Linked DNA regions of Homo sapiens: all the other regions are linked to region 4. Evidence: promoter capture Hi-C in 16 types of primary human blood cells and fetal thymus (Javierre and others, 2016). All regions are on one chromosome and are shown on one strand. Each heading gives the region's core, a stretch centred on a gene start or on the middle of the fragment in contact. The rest is flanking DNA. Distances are from core to core; before and after follow the strand shown. Region 1 overlaps PITRM1 (pitrilysin metallopeptidase 1). Region 2 overlaps PFKP (phosphofructokinase, platelet). Region 3 overlaps PFKP (phosphofructokinase, platelet). Region 4 holds the start of LARP4B (La ribonucleoprotein 4B).

Region 1 (2,700 bases), core at 147-2,646, 2.2 Mb after region 4:
AGCTGTCACCCCAACTTGAGTTCAAGAAGACTCCTTGGAAGAAAAGACCACCAAATTGAGAATGAAAAGGTAAGAAATAGTTCACCAGCCGAGAGGAGCTACGGGAATCAGAGAGCAGGCCACCCATGAGCCTCAGGGACACCAGGACAGACAGGTTGTCCAAGTCACAAAGGGACATGAAGACATGGGCCCAGGACAGCAGCTCTTAATCCAAAATGGTCTCAAGAATCCTTTACACTCTGAAAAATTAACCCATTTATGCCTGAGGTTGCAATTTTTTTGTAAAAAATCAGACCTTGGCGATGACCTTGAGCTGTAGGACATAAATAACTCCCACAAGCTTAGGGTGCCAATAATGGAACACTAGGCATAAATGCGTTTTAATGAGGACCCAAACAGCTTTTGATTATGTGGGCGTTTTTGCCTGTGTAGGTGCCTGTGTGTGTTTATATAATTTTTCTATATTCTAAATTAAAGCTGAGACATTTAAAAAATACTTATTCATTAAGGTAAGCCATCATTACATGTTGATATAAATATTTTTGAAAAATACTTCTCATAACAAAGTAAAAAACTGATTAGAGTGGTGCTGTGTTGCCTTTTTTGCAAATCTCTGTAGCGTCTGGCTCAGAGGTGAAGCTGGACTCCCCCATTTGCTCTGTATGCAGCTCGCTGTGTGTCACACACCTTGCCATGCAGCCTCTAGAAAGTACACCGTGTACTTGGGCAAGAATGAATGAAAAGACACTGTCTTGGTAGTGGTATGAAAATAGCTTTTATCTCACAGACTTGCTGCAGATCACATACCAGGGGTCCCCAGACATGGTCTGAGACCTGCTGGGAAGAACAGCAGCCTGGCCCTGCTACCCCGACTTCTGCTCACAGCACTGACCCCAGCTAATTCAAGAATGTATCACCTATAATGAGAATATTAAATAAAATCTTCCAGATGTGTCTATATCATGATATTGTACATGGGAAAGGTAAGCTGAACACAACATAAAAAAGGAAGAAAACTTACAAACGCTCCCTTCATCTCATTAAAGACGACTCCTTTAAAGACCAAGGGCGTCTGGGGGTCGCTCGGATTCTCATGTTCCAGCCGCCATCCTTCCTGCCTGAGGACAAATCATTATAAGCTGATAGTGACTCAAATACTAAAGTCTGTATCAACTAGTTAATCATTCATGACATACCAGAAATCCAGCTCGCGTAAACATGGGAAAAAGGTGGCATCCAAATACACCGAGAGGAGATTCTGAAAGTCCTTGGGATTTTGTGTGGAAAATGGATACAGAGTATAATCACTAGCTGGGTACAAATGAAAAGTGAAATTGTAAAATATAACAGATTTCTACTAAAATTATTGACTCTCAAGACTCATTCCCCCTTTGTCCTAGGACAGTAAGCTGTAGCTATTCTTGGGATGGGGCAGTGGCCCCATGCTCTGGTCCCTGGCCTCAGCAGCTGTCCCAGCTCATAACCCCAAGTGCCGGCTTTCCCATCCCGTCTCAGGATCTGCACTCGACGGGCACCAGGGCTTTCTTCAGCGAATATCTAAACTCTCTCAAGTTTCTCCAGAGACTTTCATACATCTACAAAGATGACCTCATTCTGTAACAGCATGGATTTAACCCGCTCTTCAATGTCACTCCCCCACAGAATGCACTGTTCATCGTCACCCTATCCACTATCGTCAGTCTTACTAAAAGTCAAACATCAACATTAGTAGTAACTCTGGCATTGTAGCGATATCTCCAAGAGAAAATTGTTTTGAACTTTTCTGGGAAAAGTTCACATATGTTTTCTTAAAACGCTAGTTTTTACAATCTCGCTACCATGTGGCTTTCCTGAAGGATTAAATTTCTAATGTCCTTCAACTAGAGAGAGGTAAAAATTTTTCTAGAACATGAATTGCCCACTCCCCTCATTCCTTCTCAGAAACTAACTGAATTCCAGTGGGTGTGCCTGGCAAACCCAAAAGCAGTTTCTGTTCAGGATGCTGGTCTTACCTGTGAAGGCGTTCATGAACGTGGAGAGGGACCGGTTCAACATTTTGAAGAAAGGGTCTCTGCACGGATATTTCTGAGACCCACAAAGGACGGTATGCTCAAGAATGTGAGGAACACCAGTACTGTCCATGGGAGTAGTACGGAACTGCACGCTAGGGAAGGAGAATGACCAGAACGCAAAAGGTTCAGCTTAGTGCTGCGGACACAGTTCCCAGATGCATCATCACCTCAGGCTACTAGAAATCATCATTCTGACACCACAATCCTCCAGCACAGGGTTTTCCAACTATAATGTAAATCATTGACTCAGACTGTAAAATTGTATTTTGATGAGATTATAAGTCAGTGTAAACTTTTCCTTATTTTTCAAGATGCTCTGTCAATAAAAATACTAGTGAGATGATATTTTAAACCACGTAATGTATAGCCATGTTTTAAATCAAGCTTGTCCAACCCGCAGCCTGCAGCCCGCATGCTCAGGATGGCTTGAAATGCAGCCCAACACAAATTCATACACTTTCTTAAAACATTGAGGGGTCCTTTATTTATTATTTTTAGCTCATCAGCTGTCCTTAGTGTTAGTGTATTTTATGCGTGGCCTAAGACAGTTGTTCTTCTTCCATTGTGGCACAGGGAAGCCAAAAGAATGGACATTCCTGATTTAAATAAAAACATTCAAGACCATGTT
Region 2 (2,700 bases), core at 29-2,528, 2.1 Mb after region 4:
ATATTATGTGGGGAACGCGGCTTGGTTGCTGCAACCTCGGGTTAATAGGAGACAGCTGCCCTCAGCTCTGCAGGTGGCATCAAATATGGTGGCCTCGAGCCCACATGGGTCACACCTGGGCTGTCCCTGGGGAAGCCCGCCATGGCGGGTCGCCTGGGCACTCTTTCCCTGGCAGAGCTGAAGTCACAATTTTTTTGTAGACTCTGTAAAGAGCTTTACCCTTCGGTGATACGATCTTGAACCTGTTGGAGCATTTGGACGCATTTCTTTTAAGGAAGTTCACCTCCAGATGTACTCAGAGGGCCTGGTCTTAGCTGCCACAGATTTACAAACCCTTACAGTAAGTAGGTTATTCCTCGAGAATATCTCAGTGTCCCCATTCTTTTACCATTTTATTCTGATTCTATGTTAGTACTTGATTTTCCCTGACATAGAAGACTATTGCTTGTAGCTAGAGATGAGAGAACATATTCACATTCACGTATTAATTTCAGGGGAATTTTCTGTCAGATGTGAAATTATGGTAAAATTCCGTATATTAAGATGATCATAGCTACCATTTGTTGAAAACATTTTGTATTCTAAGAGCTTTACACTTCTTATCTCCAAGCCTAAATACATGATCCCAAGAGAGGCGTGTCCTCATTTTGGAAGTGGGGAGAAAGACTCAGAAAGAAAAGTAAGTTAGGTAAGGGCATGAGGTGCATACGTGATTGTGATAGGAGCAAAACAGATCTTAATTCCAAATATTGTACTCTCCCGTAGACCACGAAGAGTACTTATGTCTGGCTGTGTCACCCAGGCCAGAGTGTAGTGGTGCCATCATAGCTCACTGCAGCCTCAAACTCCTGGGCTCAAGTGATCCTCCTGCCTCAACCTTCTGAGTAGCTGGGAAGACAGGAATGCACCATCATGACCAGCTAATTATTATTATTATTATTATTATTATTTTTGTAGAGACAGGATCTCACTATGCTGCCGAGACTGGCCTTGAACTCCTGGCCTCCTGTAGTGATCCTCCTGCCTTGGCCTCCCAAAGAGCTGGGACTACAGACATGAGCCATTGTGTCAGGCCTCCACCATCTCCACCATGTTTTTCAGGGACCTTTCTTGGTGAAGCTGCTTTATCTAGTTAATGCTCAAAAGTGAGCAAAACCCGATTTGCCCAAAATTACACAGATATTCTTTGGGTGGCTTTGTTAGGGGAACGGAAAATGCCTTTTTATAGTGATAGGAGTCCAGGTGGCAAGAACGATATTATGTGATGGGCTGCTTTTTCTTCTCTCAGTAGAGTGTATATTATTTAATTATAAGATACAATTGAAAATCTCTTTCTCTTTTCTATATTCCCGACTCCCCGGGCCTTGAATGAAGAAAGTATTTCTCAGGCTGTTTTTGTTTGTTTGTTTGTTTGTTTTTTCTACTTGCTTGGATATCTTCTGTCTCAGGCTGTTTTTTTTTTTTTTTTTTTTTTCTTTCTCTTCTTCTGCCTCTTTATGTATCTTCTGTTGTCCCAAGACATGTCTGGAAACTTAAATTGATTTTCACTCAATCTGAAATAAGCTCCATAACTCTGAATGGCGGACTTACCATGACTAAGTCCCCACTGCCACAGAACACTGTGCCACACACCAAGAGTGACTCATTGTCTTAGTCACAGGTTGTGGCTTCTGAAGGTCCTGGTGCCTGGTGGAGCTGAGTGTACTGGGAAGTCCAGGTGCATCCTTAGGGTAGGCTGCATGTGAAAGCTGCGTCCTTTTTGCCTGTGGTGAGGTGAATATCAATACAGTATTTATAGAAAGTCCACATAAATTGAGTAAGTACAAACCTTTCCAATCCTAGTGAGAATAACTAGCATTAATGACTCTTTGTTATGTGGCAGGGCCTCAGTGATCCTGGGCAATGACTTATCCCTATTTTACACATGAGCAAGGGGCGCCTGAGTTGCACCACCTTCCCTGAGTTCACAGAGCTCCGTGGTGGGGCCGGGCCCTGTGGCTGCAGCAGGGATGTTCAGGGCTGCGCGTACCTGCGTCTTCACTGGTGTCTTTCCCGCGCCCAGCACCATGCCTGGCGCTTCGCAGGAATGCAAGTGTTTGCTGCCTGCCTCCTGCCTGGAATCTCCACTGAGGAGCAGGAAACCAGGGGTTCTAGCTGTCTTCTTCGTCCATGAAGTCCTTTAGAGGAATTCAACCCTCTCTAATTAAAAGTATCCAATATCCTCAGGTCAATATGTGTAAACTGTTAAGACTTCAAGATTAGAACCTTAAAACCGAAGTCAGAAGTGTGAGGTTTCCATTGGCTGGACGTGCATTAGGTCAATGACACACATATTTATTGGACACCAGGCTTGAGCCCCACATGGGCACCTTTGGTGTCTGAAGCAATGCTGGCTTCGGAGCCCAGTAGGGTGGAAGGGGAAACTGAGAACAGCGCCATTTTGCCTCCCACGGCTCTGGGCCCGTTACCTTCCTGTGTACATACATTATTTGATGGGATCTTTTCAGTGTAAAGTGCAGTAATTAATTTTGCAAAAATTACTGGGTCTGGGAGGCAGTGTGTTGGAATGATGGTGTCACCATGTGGCACAGTGGGAGATTTGTGTAATGGCATCATTTTCTGTGAATGCAGACCGTTTTGTGTGCCATACTCGAATGACCCTTCGAAGCTAGACATTTTGTCATCTTTCGAAAGAAGCAT
Region 3 (2,700 bases), core at 61-2,560, 2.2 Mb after region 4:
TGTATAACATTATTATATATTATTAAACATTATTATACATTATTAACTGTAGTCGCTCCATAGTATCACTCATCCCTGGATTTTATTCCTTCTATCTCAAACTGTTTTTTACCCATTAACCATCCTTCTTTACACCCCTGCTTCCTTCTACTTTTCCCAGCCTCTGGTAACCATCATTCTGTTCTCTGTCTCCACGAGATCAATCCTAACTCTGTCTTCATGAGATCAATTTTTTATTTAAGCTTAAATGTATGAGTAAGAGATTGCAGTATTTGTCTTTCTGTGCCTGGCTTATTTCACCTAATTTCTGCCTGTTCCATCCATGTTGCTCAGAATGACAGGATTCATTCTTTTTTATTGGCTGAATAATATTCCATTGTGTATCAAGATGTGGAATCAGTCTAAGTGGCCATCAGTGGGTGCGTGGATAAAATGTGGCGTATATACGCAATGGAATATTTTTAAGCCATTAGAAAACCTGCTTTTTAAAATCCCAAGTCTTCTGAGTCCTGGCCTGCCTCTCAGACCTGGGTTTTGGGTGAGCCATCGTGGGCCTGCAGGACGTACTGCAGTGACTGTGGATGCATAAATCAACCTTTCATTTCTGTGTGCTCATCTGTGCAGTAGAAATGGTGTTTGCCCTCCTGTCTCCCTGGTAGAAAGGACTTGGAAAAGTCTGAGACTAACGGGGCAGAGGAGCTGTTTGACTGCTTTTCAGGGATGAGACGCGCATGCCTTTGACTCCATGGGTGTGTGGCCAGGTAGGGAAACGGGGTCTGCACCTGAACACATCTATTCACAGATGGCTCTGCACTGAAGAGGCTCAGCCCCCTCCCCGGCCTGGTCTCTGCGTCATACCCACAGGCTGGGCTTCTCTCTGAGTGTCAGGGCGATGGCATCTGGGGTGGGCAATTCTTGGTGGGCGGTCCTTTGACTCTCAGGATGCGGAGCAGCACCCCTGTGTCCACCTACCCCATAGTCATGACAGTCAAAGATGTCCTTACAGTATCTCCAACATCGGCGAACGTCCTATGGGGGGAAAATCACTCTTTTGGGGGACCGCTGTTCTAGACCTATTTGGGCTCAAATTGAGGGGATATTATGTTTTATTTTTTTAAGGATGACTCAGTAATTTATCCAACAGATTTTTTTCACCTATACTCTAGTTTCTAACCTAGAGCTCTCTGGGTTACCAACAGACCAGGACAGTTAAACAGGTTACTATTAATTAAAGGGGTTTGTTTTTTCCTTCAGTAGTGCATGTGTGAAGAAAGTATTAACCTGGGAACAGTGGCGTTTCTGCTGAAAGCCTGGCCTTCATCGAGGGACCTCTGCTGTCTGGCCGCTGCTTGAGCTCCTATAAACCTGGGCCAAGCCTACGTGTGAAGCATGCCAAGCCTTGGGCTGCATTCCAGGGAGACTCGGGGAGGGTTTGCCAGTTAACCCATTCCTTTCTACCTGGTGAACCAATTGTTGCTTCTTTCTTTTTTCTCTTAAGCTAAGGTTTTTCCTTAGAAGCCTACAAATGGCTTTAGCTTCTTGGAGATGATGATACTAAGTATATCAGATGCTTTGACCCAAAGGCCATGCCCAGGGTAAACTACCCTGGCTCTGGTGGGTCCAAACCAAGCTGGGGCGAGTCAGTTGGTTAATCCAGGGCTGCCACTGTGTCTGCAGGAAACAGTCGGCTCCTTGCATTTGGTTTCATTCATGAATTTCATATCCTGTTGTTGAATATTCTTCTGCAGATTTCAGAAATTGTTCATATTATTATAGCTCTTCAAATATGACTCACTTAAGATTCTTGCCGAGCACCGTGGCTCATACTTGTAGTCCCAGTACTTTGGGAGGCTGAGGCGGATGGATCCTTTGAGGTCAGGAGTTAAAGACCAGCGCGGCCAACATGACGAAACTCCGTCTCTACTAAGAACACAACAGGTAGCTGGGCGTGGTGTAATCCTTGGAAGGCTGAGGCTTGAACTCAGGAGGTGGAGGTTGCAGTGAACCTAGATTGCGCCACTGCATTCCAGCCTGGGTGACAGAGCGAGACTGTGTCAAAAAAGAAAAAGAAAAAAGTCTTTTATCTTAATTTTTTGTTTGTTTTAAAGTTTGGTTCTGCTCTAGACAGCTGTTTGTAAACAATATCAGAGCTGTCTTTGTCATAGTCCACACCCTAAAGAAAGGCTAGGAATAATTCTGATCATTTTATCGCTAGTTTTTTCCATGATTAAAAATAACACATTCAAAAGGTGTCAGATAAGTGATGCCTTTTTATGTTGAAAGGATAAAGGGTGTTGGTACAGCATCAGCATCCAGCCTCTGGTCTTCCCAGATGTGCTGCCATGGAGCCTGTGCCACCTGACCCCCGCCACCGGCCCCCAAGCTTAGCTCAGGTGCCCGAGGGTCTCCATCTCCCCATGGCCCCCGGTCAGCAGCCCTGTCCCTGCACCCAGACTGGCCAACCCTTCTGAGCTTGAAATATCAGCATGTGATCTTAGCTTCCCTTGTTTCAGCCCTGAGCATTACAGCTTGACTTACTATACCAATAAACAAACCATTAACTTATCAATGAATTGATTGGCATCATGCTTCCCTTCTTTAGTTGGTCTCGTGGAGGTAGAGAGGAGGATGTAGATAGCAGAGGCTGGGAAGGGGGTGTGGACAGGAGGGGATGCAGAGAGGTGGATGGGTGCAAACATA
Region 4 (2,708 bases), core at 88-2,587:
AGTTATCCAAAACTTCAAACTTCCAATTTACTATTAAGACAAGTTATTGGGCATCCACTTAGAGAATCTCAAACGAAAGCCAGATAGGAGGTAGTTTTCTACAGCTAGGTTTCTCAAGTTTCATCTCAGCCAAGTTTTAAGAACGTTTTACGTAAAAATAAGGGGAAAAGCAAAATTACATTCGCATGAAGTTTCGACGCACAACGGCACTGAAACGGAAAGACTCTTCACGTTCCCAAGCGCACCCTGAGAGGCAGGTGCAGCAGCTTTCCGATGGCTTCTCTGCCGCCCATGTATCCCAGCCCCAAGACCAACACAGGCAATCTTCACATCTGACTTTATTTTTTTAACTCCTTCAGATCCACCTCTGCTCAAGTCTATCAACAGGAAAACAGGAGCGTTCCAAACACACACCGAGCAACAGGATCCCAACTTCCTGGTTCTAAAGGAATGCGATGCCCTGATGACCCGTCCCGCCCCGCACCCGCACGGCCGCCTATCCGGGCTCCGGCGGGACCGAGGAGCGAGTGGCAAGGCTGGCGCCGCACTGCGGGTGCCGGCGCCCGCCCGGCCTGGGGGCGCTCGCGGCCCGCGACCCCGGCCCCGCCCAGGCCCTGCCCGACCCCCGTCCTCGCCGGCCTTCGCCCAACCCCGGCCTCCCGACCCTGACCCCGGCCCGGTCTTCCGGGCACCCAGCTCCGTCGACTCCCGCCTCGCCTCAACGGGTCCTCCTAAGCCCCGGCCCCGGCCTTCCCCTGCCCCGGCCTCGGCCATCCTCAGCCCCAGTTTTCCCCTGCCCCGGCCCCGGTCCTCCTCAGCCCCGGCTTTTTCCTGGCCCTGACCCCGGTCCTCCTCAGCCCTGGCCCTTCCCGTGCCCTAGCCCCGGTCCTCCTCAACCCGGCCCCGGCCTTCCCCTGCCCCGGCCCCGGCCCCGGCCCAGGCCCGGCCCTGCCCGCCGCGGCCGCGTCCTCCGGGAAGATGGCGGCGCAGTGACAGGCGGCGCGGCGCGGGTCCGAGCTGGGCCGGGAGGGACGGCCCGCCGCGGCCCAGGGTGCCTCACCTGTCAGCGCCGCCGCCCCGCCCGACCGGCCGCCCGCGGGCTCCTCGCCTCAACCCCGGGGCCCGGCGGCCGCGCCACACGCGGGGACGGCGAGGAGAGAGACGGCAGGGAGAGGCGGCGCGGCCGGGCCGGGCCGGGCCGGAGGTAGGGGAGAGGGCGGGCGCGAGCTGGCGGCGGCGGCGGCGGCGGATTCTTCCCCTTTCGGGCCCGAAAATGTCTCAACCCCGGGACTCCAGATCCCCAACGCTCCTTCCCGTTCGCATGAGAACACACAGCTCCCACTTCCGGGGCCCTGCGGAAGTCCCGCCCCCGCGCGGACCCGCGCCTCGCGCCCTGAACTCGCGCACTCACCCGCCGGTCCCGCGGACTGGCGCTCAGCCCCGGGAGAGCCTCACGTCATGGTGTTGCGGCGCGCTGATTGGGCGCACCCGACGCTCGGCCCGCCCCGCCGCCTTCTTGGCCTCTCCGCGCGTACACCCTGCTCGCGGCCTTGCGATTGGCGCGTGCGCGCACATCGCCCCGCCCCGCGCACGCCGCACGTCCGCCCCGCCCGCCCCGCCCGCCCCGCCCGCCGTCCCCGGCGCGACCGGAGCGCCTGACGCTGGGGGGCCGTGTGGGCCCTGACTTCCGGAGGGCTGGGCCCTGGTCCTCCGCCACCGCGTGCGCCCCTTAAAGACCCCTGCCCGCCGCCCAGGACGGATGGCGACCCCGGCCCTAGCCTGTCCCCAGACCCTGGACCAAGGCCCCGGCCCTGCCCCGAACCCCTCATCCCACCCCCAGGACCCAGGCCCCGACCCTGGCCACCCAGGACACGCCCTGGCCCTTCCCCGAACTCCCACCCCACAGCTGGGATCAAGGTCCCGGCCCTGCCCGGAACACCTCACCCCACACCCGGGACCCAGGCCCCGGCCCTGCCCCGAACTCCCACCCCACACCCGGGACCAAGGCCCCGGCCCTGCCCCGAACCCCTCACCCCACCCCCGGGACCAAGGCCCCGGCCCTGCCCAGAACTCCCACCCCACACCCGGGACCAAGGCCCCGGCCCTGCCCAGAACTCCCACCCCACACCCGGGACCAAGGCCCCGGCCCTGCCCCGAAGGCCCCACCGGGGACCCAGGCCCCGGCCCTGCCCCAAACTCCCACCCCACACCCGGGACCAAGGCCCCGGCCCTGCCCCGAACGCCCCACCCGGGACCCAGGCCCCGGCCCTGCCCCAAACTCCCACCCCACACCCGGGACCAAGGCCCCGGCACTGCCCCGAACGCCCCACCAGGGACCCAGGCCCCAGCCCTGTCCCGAACTCCCGCCCCACACCTGAGACGAAGGTCCCGGCCCCGAAGTCCCAACCCCACACCCGGGACCAAGGCCCCGGCACTGCCCCGAACCCCCGCCCCACACCCCTAACCAAGGCCTCGGCTCAGCCCCGGAATCCCCAACCCCACACCTGGGATCAAGGCCCCGGCCCTTCCCCAAACCCCCAACCCACACCCGGGACCAAAAGGCCCCGGCCCCACGTTTCCTAGAGGCGCTGGGTTCGGGCCCACGTTGCAACGAGTCAGATGCTCTTGGTAGCTCAGGGAGGTGTTCACACTCCTGCCGTTTCCGTGAGGATGGTGACGACTCCGAACTATAGCAGCATACTCTACCT

Evidence for each region. The method cuts DNA at HindIII sites, captures the fragments that hold promoters and counts their contacts. A CHiCAGO score of 5 or more calls a contact.
Region 1: a contact is called between a fragment that was not itself captured here and the fragment with the promoter of LARP4B in region 4, in 4 of 17 cell types (M0 macrophages, M1 macrophages, fetal thymus and 1 more). The highest score is 8.5, in M0 macrophages.
Region 2: a fragment that was not itself captured here is called in contact with the fragment with the promoter of LARP4B in region 4 in 3 of 17 cell types (erythroblasts, M2 macrophages and total B cells); the score reaches 9.0 in erythroblasts.
Region 3: a contact is called between a fragment that was not itself captured here and the fragment with the promoter of LARP4B in region 4, in 1 of 17 cell types (endothelial precursors). The highest score is 5.0, in endothelial precursors.

What each region holds. Positions count from the first base shown.
Region 1 is chr10:3,164,217-3,166,916 of GRCh38, forward strand. PITRM1 (pitrilysin metallopeptidase 1) reads right to left here. Exons shown (of 27, transcript NM_014889.4): 4 at 2,013-2,164; 5 at 1,197-1,311; 6 at 1,022-1,118. Among named protein-coding and RNA genes, the nearest start is that of PITRM1, 7.2 kb to the right of the region's middle. The HindIII fragment of the contact is 2,116 bases long and covers 339-2,454 here.
Region 2 is chr10:3,069,976-3,072,675 of GRCh38, forward strand. All of the region lies in intron 1 of PFKP (phosphofructokinase, platelet), which reads left to right. Among named protein-coding and RNA genes, the nearest start is that of PFKP, 3.8 kb to the left of the region's middle. The HindIII fragment of the contact is 2,902 bases long and covers 1-2,700 here.
Region 3 is chr10:3,089,728-3,092,427 of GRCh38, forward strand. All of the region lies in intron 2 of PFKP (phosphofructokinase, platelet), which reads left to right. Among named protein-coding and RNA genes, the nearest start is that of PFKP, 24 kb to the left of the region's middle. RefSeq lists enhancers at 944-2,143, 1,624-1,823, 2,678-2,700. The HindIII fragment of the contact is 2,141 bases long and covers 241-2,381 here.
Region 4 is chr10:930,368-933,075 of GRCh38, forward strand. It overlaps LARP4B (La ribonucleoprotein 4B), which reads right to left and starts at 1,338. Exons shown (of 18, transcript NM_015155.3): 1 at 1,061-1,338. LOC124902363 (keratinocyte proline-rich protein-like) reads left to right here and starts at 1,624. Exons shown (of 2, transcript XM_047426111.1): 1 at 1,624-2,708. The coding sequence starts at 1,760. The coding sequence ends at 2,464. LARP4B-DT (LARP4B divergent transcript) reads left to right here and starts at 2,659. Exons shown (of 3, transcript NR_120629.1): 1 at 2,659-2,708. RefSeq lists silencers at 529-658, 749-828, 859-968, 1,039-1,748, 1,829-1,918. The HindIII fragment of the contact is 3,248 bases long and covers 1-2,708 here.